Regions from separate parts of the Homo sapiens genome. Here region 1 is linked to region 2. Evidence: promoter capture Hi-C in 16 types of primary human blood cells and fetal thymus (Javierre and others, 2016). All regions are on one chromosome and are shown on one strand. Each heading gives the region's core, a stretch centred on a gene start or on the middle of the fragment in contact. The rest is flanking DNA. Distances are from core to core; before and after follow the strand shown.

Region 1 (2,700 bases), core at 97-2,596, 590 kb after region 2:
CTCTGTCATCCAGGCTGGAGTGTAGTGGTGCAATCACGGCTCACTGCAGCCTTGACCTCCTGGGTTTGGTTGGTCCTCCCATCTCAGCCTCCTGGGTAGCTGAGGCTTCAGGCATGCACCACCACTCCTGGCTAGTTTTTTGTATTTTTTGTAAAGATAGGGTTTTGCCAAGTTGCCCAGGTTGGTCTGGAGCTCATGGGCGTAAGCGATCCGCCTGTCTTGGCCTCCCAAAGTGCTGTGATTATAGGCATGAGCCACCACACCCACCCCAAGTAGCTGTATTTGAATCCAGAGTCCCAGTTCAACTATTAAACGATGGTATTTACCTTTGTTCCTCTGGAACAAATACATTCTTCTTTTGGCCTTTATCCGAGCCTGTTTTATTTTCCGATTCTATCTTATCTCCATTTTTTGATACTTAAAATATTCCTATGACAGGCTGGGCACGGTGGCTCATGCCTGGAATCCCAGCACTTTGGGAGGCTGAGGCAGGCGGATCATGAGGTCAGGAGGTCAAGACCATCCTGGCTAACATGGTGAAACCCCGTCTCTACTAAAAATACAAAAAATTAGGCGGGCGTGGTGGCGGGCGCCTGTAGTCCCAGCTACTCGGGAGGCTGAGGCAGGAGAATCTCTTGACCCCAGGAGGCGGAAGTTGCAGTGAGCTGAGATCGTACCATTGTACTCCATCCTGGGCGACAGAGCGAGACACGGTCTCAAAAAAAAAAAAAAAATTCCTAAGACAATCAAGAATGATGGTTTATAGACTTGAGATTCTCAAGTAAGAGCTTGGCTCAGATGACACTTCCTTTATGGTAGTTTCTGATATTTCCTGTCAACATGAATTATACCTTCATATGGTTCCCATTGTTGTTGAATGCAGTTCTGTTATTGCACTGTAATGTTGTTGTTTGAAATCTTTTATGGACTGAATTGTGTCTCCCGAAATTCACATGTTGAATCCATAACCCCCAGTACCTCAGAATGACTGTATATGGAGATAGGACCTTTAAAGAGGTGATTAAAATCAGGCTGTTATGGTGGGCCCTACACCAGTCTGCCTGGTGTCCTTATAAGAAAAGGAGATTTGGGCTGGGCGCGGTGGCTCATGCCTATAATCTCAGCAATTTGGGAGGCCGAGGTGGGTGAATCACAGGTCAGGAGTTTGAGACCAGCCTGGCCAACATAGTGAAACCCTGTCTTTACTAAAAATACAAAAATGAGCAGGGCATGGTGGCGCGTGCCTGTAGTCCCAGCTACTTGGAAGGCTGAGGCAGGAGAATTGCTTGAACCCGGGAGGCAAAGGTTGCAGTGAGCTGAGATCATACCATTGCACTCCAGCATGGGCAACAAAGCAAGACTTTGTCTAAAAAAAAAAAAAAAAAGTAGGGGGGATCCTAGAGAGCTCTTTCATTCTCTTTCCACCTCTTGAAGATAAGAGGAGAAGTCCACTGTCTGCAACCTGGAAGAGGACCCTTGCCAGAACCCAGCTGTGCTGGCACCCTGATTTCATATATCCAGCCTGCAGAACTGTGAGGAATAAATTTCTCTTGTTTATGCCACCCAGTCTGTGGTATTGTGTTATGGCATTCCTAGCAAACTAAAATAAAATATTTCTCCTTCACTAGACTCTGAACCATTGGTTCAGTAGTCATTCAGGTACGTGGTTCCTAACACATGGTAGGCATTTGGCAAATGTTTGTTCAACACGTGGATGGATAAGTTGTTTGGAGAGGACCCTTAGAGATCATATGGTTCAATTCAGGCCTCCTACTTCCCAGACTTCTGCCACACAGATGGAGGGGGTTGCGTCATTTCCCCAAGGGCTGCTTTTCCAATGTTCTCATGTGCTGTTTTGAGTGTTATCAAAGTAATTTAAGCAGGCATAGGTCCTGCCATTTAAACTTTTCTAACATTTTTACTCTTGCCTGACCTCTACTCCTAGTTCCAGAGAAAAACCACAGAATATTAGACCTTGAAGGAAATCCCAGAGATTATTTAATTGAATTCCTTAATTCTGAAGTTTTTTTTTTTTTCAGTCTAAATGTAATTTAACTGTTGGAGAAAATTTTGAAAGTACAAACAGAGAAATTATTATTCTTACCAACTGTTGGTATTTTGGCATATTTGTTACCTACATATGCTTTTTATTAATATAGTGATAACCATAGCATGTAAACACATTCTCTTTTTCCATTCATAGGCATGTTGCTGTGTCATCTTCATAACACATTTTTAATGAATGCATAATACTCTCAATAATTATGTGTTCCAAATTATTTAACTGCTTTCCCATTGCTGAATATTTAGAAAGTTTTATTTTTTAGATGTTGGTAAATTTCTTTGTTCTTGTAACTGTTTTCCAAATTTTAGATTATTTTCTTGAGAGAGAGTTCCCAAAGTGGAATTACTGGGTCAAAAGTTAAGAATTGCTTTCAGAAGAGCTATACTAATGTTTAAATTTTTTTTCATTTAATTATTTATTTATTTTTTTTGAGACGGAGTCTCACTCTGTCGCCCAGGCTGGAGTGCAGTGTTGTGATCTCGGCTCACTGCAACCTCTGCCTCTCGGGTTCAAGCAATTCTCCTTCCTCAGCCTCCCAAGTAGCTGGGATTACAGGCACCCACCACCATGCCTGGCTAATTTTTGTATTTTTAGTAGAGGCAGGTTTTACCATGTTGGTCAGGCTGGTCTTGAAC
Region 2 (2,700 bases), core at 107-2,606:
ATAAAATGAAGTATAATACATCTCATAGGGTCATTGTGAAGATCAATAAAATTATTACCATAAGTATTAGGCAAATGCTAAGCTCTTTATAATCGTTGGTTACCCTGTTCCTCTACCACTATCCCTCCCTCCCACACACACTTCCTCTCACTCTCTCTCCACTACCTAAAGGATCAAGTTCAACCTCTTTAGCTGGCCTTTAAGCCTCCCCCGACCACACCCCACCCCACCCCAGATAAGCGCCACCCAACCTTTCCAATTTTATCTAGGACAGCTCCCCTGCCCAGCAGTCCAGCTAGAGGTCACGTCGGCCACCCTTTTCTGCCTGCAATGCCTCAGACACACATGCTCTGTAACCCAGAAATCTGTGGCCAAGAAAGGTGCCAAGACCCGCAGAAAAGCTGGGACACAGGAAAGAGAAACGAAGGCTGACAACAGATCTCACGGGGGTGAGGGAGATTAGGCCAATCAGAGAAGACAGCACACGCCAGCCTCAGATGCAGAACAACTGGACCTGGACCTAACAAGCTGAGTACAAGTGGAGACGCAACCAGAAAAGATTGAAGTGAAATCCTCAAGCAAAAAAAAAAAAAAAAAAAAAAAAAAAAAGGATGGAGCAGTAGTCAGAGGGGATGCCACCCCTACAAAAGACAAACAAATTGATGGAATGGAACCTTGCAGGGAGAGAGAGGACCAGCAGAGAGAGGGAGGCGTAGGAAAATGAGGAGTGGGGCACAAAGGTGGGGCTCTCAGGGAGAAGAGGAGTCGATTTTAGAGGGGGAGAAGAAAAGGACACAGAGCTGGCTGTACAGAGAAAAGGGGCCAAGGCAGAGAAGATGGCGGGATGGTGTGAGACGGAGTTCACAGAAATACCCAGAGAAGGCGACGATTACACAGAGGAGCCCCCAGAGGGGCGAACTCTTGAGGAAGATGAACGCGGAGGGTGGAGCCAGCCAGAAATTCAGAAAAACTAGAGGCGTCCCCGGTAGCGAAGGAAGCCGGGAAGGGGCCAGGCTATCAGGGCATGAAGCACGGGAGAAAATGGGTCCGAAGAGGGAGAGCGTCCGAGAGAAAAGGAAAATCAGAGATTAGGAAAATCACAACCGACACAAAGACAAGAAGAGACACAAGGAAAGGGGTGCAATCTGAGGAAGGAGGGCCCGGTAAGCAACCCGGTAATCACAGCGCTGGGAGAGAACGCATAAAAGAAGGGTAGCTCAGGAGTTGTGGGGCACCGGAAGAGACATAACAGAAAACGCAGGCCTCCACTCAGCAAAAACAAGCCACGCGCGAAGTCGAGGTACAAGGCAAGGGAAGGCCAGAAACGAGGCAACCCGTGCACAGACCGGGCTTGGTCAACGCCCCAGGGGCGGGGCCAGGCGGGCCGTTCCTGGGGGGCGGGGCCAGCCTCGGTCCAATAAGGGGTACTCGACGCCCCATTGGCCACCTGCCTCGAAAGGGGGAAGACAGTCTGGGCGGGCAGGACGTGCGGAGGGAGAGGCAGCGGTGGCGCGAGGCTCAACTCGAAGCGCTATTGGTGGGACTGATAGTCTTGTGCGCCAAGAAGCTGGCAGAAGGGAAGGGGCGGGACATCAGTTCAGGATCTCAAACCGCATTGGTCGTCTGCCTCGGCTGAGAGAGGCGATGCTTGAAGTTCATTGGTCTTTGTGAGACAGGGTAAGAAAAGCAGCGCGAGCTTGGCGGTTCCTCTGGCCACTTTCTCACAGTGTCTTTGGGCGTCTTCTTGACTGAATCTGACTCCATTGGAGGCTGTGGTAACCGTGAACTAGCTGCACGAACACGGTCCCTCCTGCCTTTCCGTCCTCCTCCCTCTTAGCCGGACTCCCTAACCCAGGCATCCCCTCTCCTCCCCCTCGCGCCCCTCCCGCCCTCGCGCCCCCTCTCCCCTTCCCTGCCTCGCGGGCCCCTTGGCGCGTTCCCGGTTCCCCACTCGCTCCCTGGGGCACGGGAAGGGGGGAGGGGGACATGCATGAAATTAATTGTTGGTAGTGGCCACAGGAGCAGGAAGCGCTGGACACAGTGACTTCACATGTTTACACAAAAACCTGAATAAGGTGTGAGCGCAAGAGAGACATTAGTGCCCCAAGGAGAAGGTTTTTGGCCCAGATCAGGGCCTAGCACATGACAGGGGCTCAGTAACCATTTGTGGAATGAATGAAGGAGTGAAGGAAAATAACTTGAAAGTGGGGCAGGTGGCGGGTGCGGTGGCTCATGCCTGTAATCCCAACACTTTGGGAGGCCGAAGCAGGCAGGTCGCTTGAGGCAGGTCAGGAGTTCAAGACCAGCCTGGCCAACATGGTGAAACCCCATCTCTACTAAAAATACAAAAATTAGACGGGCGTGGTGGCACAGGCCTGTAATCCCAGGTACTCGGGAGGCTGAGGCAGGAGAATTGCTTGAACCCAGGAGGCGGAGGTTGCAGTGAGCCGGGATTGCACTACTGCACTACAGCCTGGGCTACAGAGTGAGACTCCATCTCAAAACAAAAAAAAAGAAAGAAAGAAAGTGGGACAGGGGAGCCAAGCATAGTGGCTCCAGCCTGTAGTCCCAGCTACTGGGGAGGCTGCGGCAGGAGGATTGCTTGAGCTCAGGAGGTGGAGGCTGCAGTGAGCCATGATCACGCCACTGCGCTCCAGCCTGGGCAACAGAGCGAGACCCTGTCAATAAAAAAAAAAAGAA

Evidence for each region. Contacts are between HindIII fragments. The CHiCAGO score rates a contact against its expected background, and 5 or more counts as called.
Region 1: a contact is called between a fragment that was not itself captured here and the fragment with the promoter of LYPD4 in region 2, in 1 of 17 cell types (total B cells). The highest score is 5.9, in total B cells.

Annotation. Positions count from the first base shown.
Region 1 is chr19:42,434,461-42,437,160 of GRCh38, forward strand. The region is part of intron 1 of CXCL17 (C-X-C motif chemokine ligand 17); the gene reads right to left. The region is part of intron 1 of LIPE-AS1 (LIPE antisense RNA 1); the gene reads left to right. Among named protein-coding and RNA genes, the nearest start is that of CXCL17, 7.1 kb to the right of the region's middle. The HindIII fragment of the contact is 3,149 bases long and covers 1-2,700 here.
Region 2 is chr19:41,843,327-41,846,026 of GRCh38, forward strand. It overlaps LYPD4 (LY6/PLAUR domain containing 4), which reads right to left and starts at 1,357. Exons shown (of 5, transcript NM_173506.7): 1 at 252-1,357. It overlaps DMRTC2 (DMRT like family C2), which reads left to right and starts at 1,716. Exons shown (of 9, transcript NM_001040283.3): 1 at 1,716-1,775. The HindIII fragment of the contact is 15,469 bases long and covers 1-2,700 here.